2 separate regions of the Homo sapiens genome follow, and region 1 is linked to region 2. The links are contacts of gene promoters, found by promoter capture Hi-C in human tissues and cell types (Jung and others, 2019). All regions are on one chromosome and are shown on one strand. The core of a region is centred on a gene start or on the middle of the fragment in contact, and the rest is flanking DNA. Distances in the headings are between cores, read along the strand shown.

Region 1 (3,353 bases), core at 624-3,123, 390 kb after region 2:
TCTCACATAGTTACTCATTGTTTGGTAACCATTTTATTATCTATTGAATGCCCTAAGTATACATAATAAAATTCATCTTTTTAGAAAAAGTGGTGCCACAGATGTATACTCATTGACATGGAATATCCACAACATATTGTCAAGTTTAATGAGTCAGTTATAAAACCAAATATTGGGATTCTCCCACTGATATAAAATTCTATATCTAGATTGTCCGGAATTCTTGCAGTGAAGATTTAACTGTCATTACTGCTGGGTGAGTAGATTTGAGGGGATTTGCACGGTCTGTGCTTTTCTTTTTCCATCAAATATTTTTACAAAACTTGAAGCGTTTTCTTAAAAGGCAGAAATGTTTAGGGACACACCTTTTGCTCCTAGCATTCTGACTGAAGGGCCCCAAGGTGGTGGCGCATTCATAACACAAACCACTGGCTAGCTTGAGGCCTGGGCACTTAACTCCAATGACAATGCTCTCCACAATGACCGTCACCTCACAGAGGAGTTGAGAAGGGCCCAACTTTATTGTTGGCTACCCCTATAAATGACAACAACTCCAATGGTGATCCTAGGCAAGGCTTTCGCCAGCACACACTCATTTGTCCCCGCAGTGGATGTCAGGTAGGCTAGGGCTGGAACTATCCTTATTTTAGAGACAAGGCAGCTAGAGCTTGGAGGAGTTGGTGGGCTTGCCCAGGTACCACAGCTACGTAGCCAAGGAAGGGCCCAGCCCCCCTGGGGAGTCCAAGCCTTGCCTCCTCTCTCTTATGAGCCACCTCTCATTGGTGGTCAGGACTGTCCTGACCACCCATGACACTGGTCCTCCACTCGGGAGAGGAAGACCATTAAGCATTGATCTTGCATAGGTACAAACTCAGACACCTGTGTTATTACAACAGCCAAGCATCCCTGGCCCCCACTGCGCTTCACACAAATGGCAGCAGCTGGAGGGCTAATATGGTGACTGCCACCGGACTGCCCCTTGCTAAGGACTCCACTGCCCCTGCTGGAGTGCCTCTCTAGCTTAGCTCTCTGGAGTCACCTTGAAGTCCCTCATGGCCTCCCACACTCGGTGATATCCTTTGGAAGGACTTGCTTTTCCAAGATGGCTCTGTGAGGACCCCGAGACTGCTTATCCATGTGGCCCAGAGCCTCTACACCCAGAGCCTGTGGACCAAAGTGACCACTGTGTCTGGCCAGAGCACCAGCGCCCACTTCTCACACTCATTCATTCATGCAGTCTCTCTCTCCCTCCTTCCCTCCCCCATTCCTCCAACAAATAATTCGAGCATGTCTACTCTGAGACAAGCAGGGTGGTAGGCACTGGGCATTCAGTGGCAAGCCAGTTGTCACAATCCCCACCCTCCTGTTGCTATGGATTATCAGGGAAGTCAAACACTAAATAACTGTACAGGTGAATAATCAGTGCAACTAGGGTGGGTGCTATGAAGGAGTTGTATAGCACTCTTTCCACTACGTGGGAAGCTGACCTGGGCTGGGGAGTCAGGAGGGTGTCCTGGATAAAAAGGCATTTAAGAGGCCAGGCACGGTGGCTCACGCCTGTAATCCCAGCACTTTGGGAGGCCTAGTTAGGCGGATCACCTGAGGTCAGGAGTTCGGGACCAGGCACATACCTGTAAGCCCAGCTACTCAGGAGGCTGAGGCAGAAGAATTGCTTGAACCCAGGAGGTGGAGGTTGCAGTGAGCCAAGATCATGACATTGTACTCCAGCTTGGGCAACAAGAGTGAAACTCCATCTCAAAAAAAAAAAAAAAATCGTGTTTAACAGGCTGGGCTCAGTGGCTCATGCCTGTAATCCCAGCACTTTGGGAGGCCAAGGCAGGTGGATCACAAGGTCAGGATTTTGATACCAGCCTGGCCAACATGGTGAAACCCTGTCTCTAATAAAAATACAAAAATTAGCCGGGCATGGTGGCAGGCGGCCTGTAATCCCAGCTACTCGGAAGGCTGAGGCAGGAGAATTGCTTGAACCCAGGAGACGGAGGTTACAGTGAGCCAAGACCACGCCACTGCACTCCAGCCTGGGCAACAGAGCGAGACTCCATCTCAAAAAAAAAAAAAAAAATGCGTTTAACAAGAGCAGCCGTTCCCCGTGTGGTATGTGACACCTCACAGGGCATGGGGCTCATGCCAGCTAACAGCCGAGGTGCTGAGGCCAAGAGAGGCAGAGGACATTACTCAGCTGAGGAGAGGGAAACCCAGACCTCAGAGTGTCCTCAAAGCCAGGCCTAACCAGTCCCAGGCTCGCCCAGAGCCAGCAGGGCTGCTCCTAGGACAGGTAGGACTTGAGGGCTTCTGTGGCCAGGCTCTGAAGGTGACACTTCTGGCTGAGCTCACAAAACATCTCTGCACAGGAGTTCTCTATGACACAGAGCTGCCTCATTCATTACAAGACATCCCACGGGCCAGCCTGGCTTCCCTGCTTCTGGTGCTTAACAGAGACAAGGAAAGATGGGCTCATTTGTGGCTGCAGGTCTTCCACGACAGGCACGGTACCAAGACTCAAGAGCCTAATTAAAATGAATACCCTCATTCCTCAGGAGAGGTTATCTCATTTCTGAGCTAAGTGTTTCTGACCATCTTCTGAAGAAAAATGTAAGGTGGCTGCTGTGGGGGAAGGAAAACCCACCACTCAGTCACTAAAACCAGAGCTCACCCACGGGAGTCCCAACTTGCAGGATCCATCCAGGCTCTCCAGAGGGCAGTGCCTGAGGCCACAGTGAATCGCCAACTCCAGCCTGCAAGGTCAGAGCAGAGCCTGCCGCAGGGGCTTGTCTCTGGCCTGATTCTCTGGCTTGCGGCTGTCTGATGGCCCTTATACCCTTCTCTGCTGTCACCTGGACTAAGGCAGGCTACTGATGTGGCACTGTGCACACCAAACATCTGGGGGCTAGAGAGAATGTTCCTTCTGTGTCTAGGCATTGAGGCCTGTGGACAAGCACAGCCTCTGTCCTTTCCATGGAAGGAGAGCTGGCTCCAAGCCGTGGAGAGCAGGGAGATCATGAAACAGCCAGGTCCTGCCTCTTGCCACAGCCTGAGCCCAAGCCTGAGCCCTTCCCACCTTCAAGCTCAGCCTCAGTTTCTATAGCTAATCCTGATTCAGGTGGAAGCTCTGGACCAATGGTTTTCAAATCATCTGCGGTGGATGGATCTCATGTTGCAAACAGATATCCTTCACCAAAGACCACTGGCCACAGAACAAGGGAAGCAACCTAGGCTGACAAATGAAGACAGCCTGGAGCCCACCTATTGGCACCCCCACTGGCAGGTGGCCCCTACAGAGAAGTACAGTAGCTCACACCAGCCCAAGGCTCTGGAACCACATGGAAGCCTTG
Region 2 (3,684 bases), core at 960-3,459:
GTCAATTCAGACACTTCTTTAAAAGGAAACTTTTAGATCGAGAAGTTCTAAAAACTCCAACAAATTAAGATCATTTTACCCAGTACCTGGATAACATCTGAATAAGCATTTCACAACTTTTTTATTTTTTAATCTTGGGAAACACAAGTCGATAACTGGCAGGAAGTTTTGGCTCAACCCTAACTTTTGTGGCGGCGGGGGAGCAAGTCAGCAGAACTGGGTCATAATATGGAGCCTCTGCTCCCTAAGACAACATAAACATTCCTAAGCATTCTAGCAGGTGTTGAAAAAGTGATTTAGGCAGAGCTTTGTAATGCACAAAATAAGGACATAATAATGTTTGATTAGAAAACCAAAGGTATGCTAGAGGCCAGGCACAGTGGCTTACACCTGAAATCCCAGCACTTTGGGAGGCTGAGGCAGGCGGATCACTTGAGGTCAGGAGTTCGAGACCAGCCTGGCCAACATGGTGAAACCCCATCTCTACTAAATACTCAAAAAAAAAAAAAAAAAAGCTGGAACTTGTCATGTGTGTGAACTGGCAAGTCAAGTCTATAAGAGGACTGTTTTTATATGATGCATGGAAAGCTAGCCAACAGACTGCAAAAATTCTCTCACATCTATACACATATTGCTGAAGAGAGGATTCAAGCAGGGATTATGTTCCAGGGAAGAGAAGGCTGGTCTGAACAACCTCAAGGGGTGCTTTCAACTGAGAGTCCTCAATTTTGTGATTCAGAGTTCACTGGCTTCTCCTGGTCAAACATAAAATCTTCAGAGGCATTTCCAACTTGTTCTTAGAAAAAAGCTACTAACCCATGGGGTGGGACCCAGTTTACTTATTCATTCAATAAACATTTAAGGTGCCTCTATCAGATATTGGGTCATTCCAAAGTCCTTGAAAAGAAGGATGGTGCACAGGACAACCAGGAAGAGATTATGTAAGGTCAGATGCATTGGCCTTATTTACAGGAGATGTAGGCTAAAGTGATGGAAGTGTCAAAAGAGAAGAAAAAAGTCACATTTGCCTTGAGAGCAGAGTCAGCACCAGAAAGATGCAGAACAACTCCTTGGAATCACAGACTTTCAAGTTGGAAAGGACCTTCATCTAATACCTATATACCTCCCTCGAAAGGAGGCACGGAGGCAATCCATTCACTCCATCGGTGGTCACCTCTGACGATTCTTCCATTTAAGTTCTTCTATTAAGCAAAAATCTTGCCTTCCTGTAGAATTCACCTGTTAGTCCTAGTTCTGCCTCTTTTAGCCTAAAGATGAAGTGGAAGCCCTCTTTGCCGTAACAGTATTTTCAATTTTTAAAAAGTTAATTCCCTTCCAGTGCTCTCTTTACTGAGCTAACCATTCCAGTTCTTTCAAAGTTCCTGAACTGGCACCAGCTGCCTCAAAGCGAAGAATGGATATCTAGTGCTCACAGCAGGAAAGCACTTAAAATCAATGAGCTTCAAACATTAGTATATACAGGACCCCCCTACGCATAAGTTCAGATTCTAAACCAGAAGTCTGAATTGAGTCCCGCGCTGTAAAGCCGGCATCTCAGAGAATTACAAAGCAGATGGTGTAAGAACCATATTTTGAAAAACACTGCCCCGTTTTAGAGACGAGAAAACTGAGGCCCAGCACAGGGAAGAGATTTGGCCCAGAACGCACAATTGTCTGTCGGTGGCGAAGTCTCGAATCCAGGTCTCTTACTTTCAGCCCAACTCTGTTCACCGCGCTCCCCGGCCTCTGCTTCTCCACTCAGGGCAAACTCGTGAAATGCACTCCCAGATGATAGAGGCGGTCTCGCACGGGGGATAGAATGGGAATCAGTGCCCATGCCTCGAAAGGAGAGCTTGTGGGAGCCCTTCTCTTTCGCAAGGCCTCAGTTTCCCCAATCTGTATTCATGGGACGCAGAACCACAACGCCAGCTCGTCCTCTTTTCGGGGACAGACACGACCGGTCTTGCTGTCTCTGGGCCCCTGGGCTCAGATGTTCAAGCCCGTGTGTCCTGGGAAGGCGGACCCGGGTCTCCCGCCCCCGTCCCTAAACTTTGGCGCCCCCGCCCCAACCCCAGCCCCTCACATACCTGCCTCCGCACAGTTAACGCCAGCCCAGTCAATCAGTTTTTCGGGTACACGGCCAATACTAACGCCGCGTCAATCTGTTGGGTAAGACCTCCGACCCCTCCTACGCGGACTCCAGTCACATGACGCGGAGCCGCCCCTCTCGGAGGGACTTCCGGCCCCAACCGGAAGAGGTTAATTTCCATGGCTGAAGCTCTAAGGTTCCGCCTGCGGGCAGGAAGCGGAGGAACCTTGGAGCTTCGGCAGCTTTTCAAAGAGCTTTGGGTTCGGGGCTCCTAAAAGAAAAAAACTGATTCCGGCCGGGCGCGGTGGCTCCCACCTGTAATTCCAGCAGTTTGGGAGGCCGCGGCGGATGGATCACTTGAGGTCAGGAGTTCGAGACCAGCCTGGCCAAAATGGTGAAACCCCTCTGTACTCAAAATACAAAAAGTAGCCGGTCGTGGTGGCGCACACCTGTAATCCCAGCTACTCGGGAGGCTGAGGCAGGATAATCGCTTGAACCCGGGAGGCGGAGGTTGCAGTGAGCTGAGATCGCACCACTGCACTCTAGCCTGGGCGTCAGAGTGAGACTCCGTCAAAAAAAAAAAAAAAAAAGAGAGAGAGAAAGAACTAACTCATTCCGGAAAGTACCAGATAAACTTGGAACATCTTGTTACACCAGAATATAAGGATGATGGTAATAAGAATCATGGGAATGTGTCAAAGAACACAGGAGCTGTCTTTAAGGAGATCTTACTGGCCAAGTCAGGGCAATTTCAGAATCAAAATATGGAGTGATAGTAATAGAGTATAACTAATTGAATAAAATAGTAATCCATGAGTCTTTACAAACATAAAGAAGTGAGCATATTAATGGGTGAAGGGAAAGTCTTCCTTTTAGTAGAATGCTAGCTAATAAACATGGTGGAATTAGGAAATCAATAATGTGTGGTAAAACTAGAGAAACGGGATGTTTACAACAGCAAAAGTGTCTCCCATAAATTAGCTATTGATTACAAAGGGAAAATGGTGATGTTACAGAGGTTTAACCTAGCAGAACAAACAGATCAAAGTGATCAAAGTTAACACCACTAGTTAATGGGTCAGATCAAGGGCCTCCTAATAAAATGCACTGAGAACACATCTGTGGTATTTCTGTCAAAAGTGCACCGTACACATCTCATGAGGAAGTGCTAGAGAACCCCAAATGAAGGACACTGTCTACAAAATAACTCATTGTCATGAAAAACAGAGAAAAGCTGAGGAACTGTTCCAGTTTAAAGGAGACTAAAGAAGCATGACAACAAAATGTGGTGTGTGATTCTAAATAGGACCCTGGACTGGGGTAGTGGTGGTGGTGGAATAGTTGTAATGGACAATATTGGGACAAGTAATGAAATTTGAATATGGATTGTGGATTAGCTGTTAATACATATTGTATCAAATCACATACTGATAGGTGATGGAGCTTGTGATTTGCACTCAAGCAGTCATTGGAGTTCTTGACAGCCATCTTCATTCATTCAACAAGCATTTATTAAGTACCTACAGTTATCCCAGGAACGGTTAGGGATCGGACCTGAGTAGGAGGTGAACATAGTAGATAAAGGCCGGCGCGGT

What was found. The method cuts DNA at HindIII sites, captures the fragments that hold promoters and counts their contacts. A contact is called where the count stands out against the background at its distance.
Region 1: a fragment that was not itself captured here is called in contact with the fragment with the promoter of RNF185 in region 2 in 1 of the 25 tissues and cell types used here (lymphoblastoid cells).

The regions. Positions count from the first base shown.
Region 1 is chr22:30,771,524-30,774,876 of GRCh38, reverse strand. All of the region lies in intron 2 of OSBP2 (oxysterol binding protein 2), which reads right to left. Among named protein-coding and RNA genes, the nearest start is that of MIR3200, 42 kb to the right of the region's middle. RefSeq lists an enhancer at 1,712-2,211. The HindIII fragment of the contact is 9,073 bases long and covers 1-3,353 here.
Region 2 is chr22:31,158,707-31,162,390 of GRCh38, reverse strand. RNF185 (ring finger protein 185) reads right to left here and starts at 2,209. Exons shown (of 7, transcript NM_152267.4): 1 at 2,088-2,209. It overlaps MIR3928 (microRNA 3928), which reads left to right and starts at 2,272; the gene lies at 2,272-2,329. The HindIII fragment of the contact is 14,525 bases long and covers 1-3,684 here.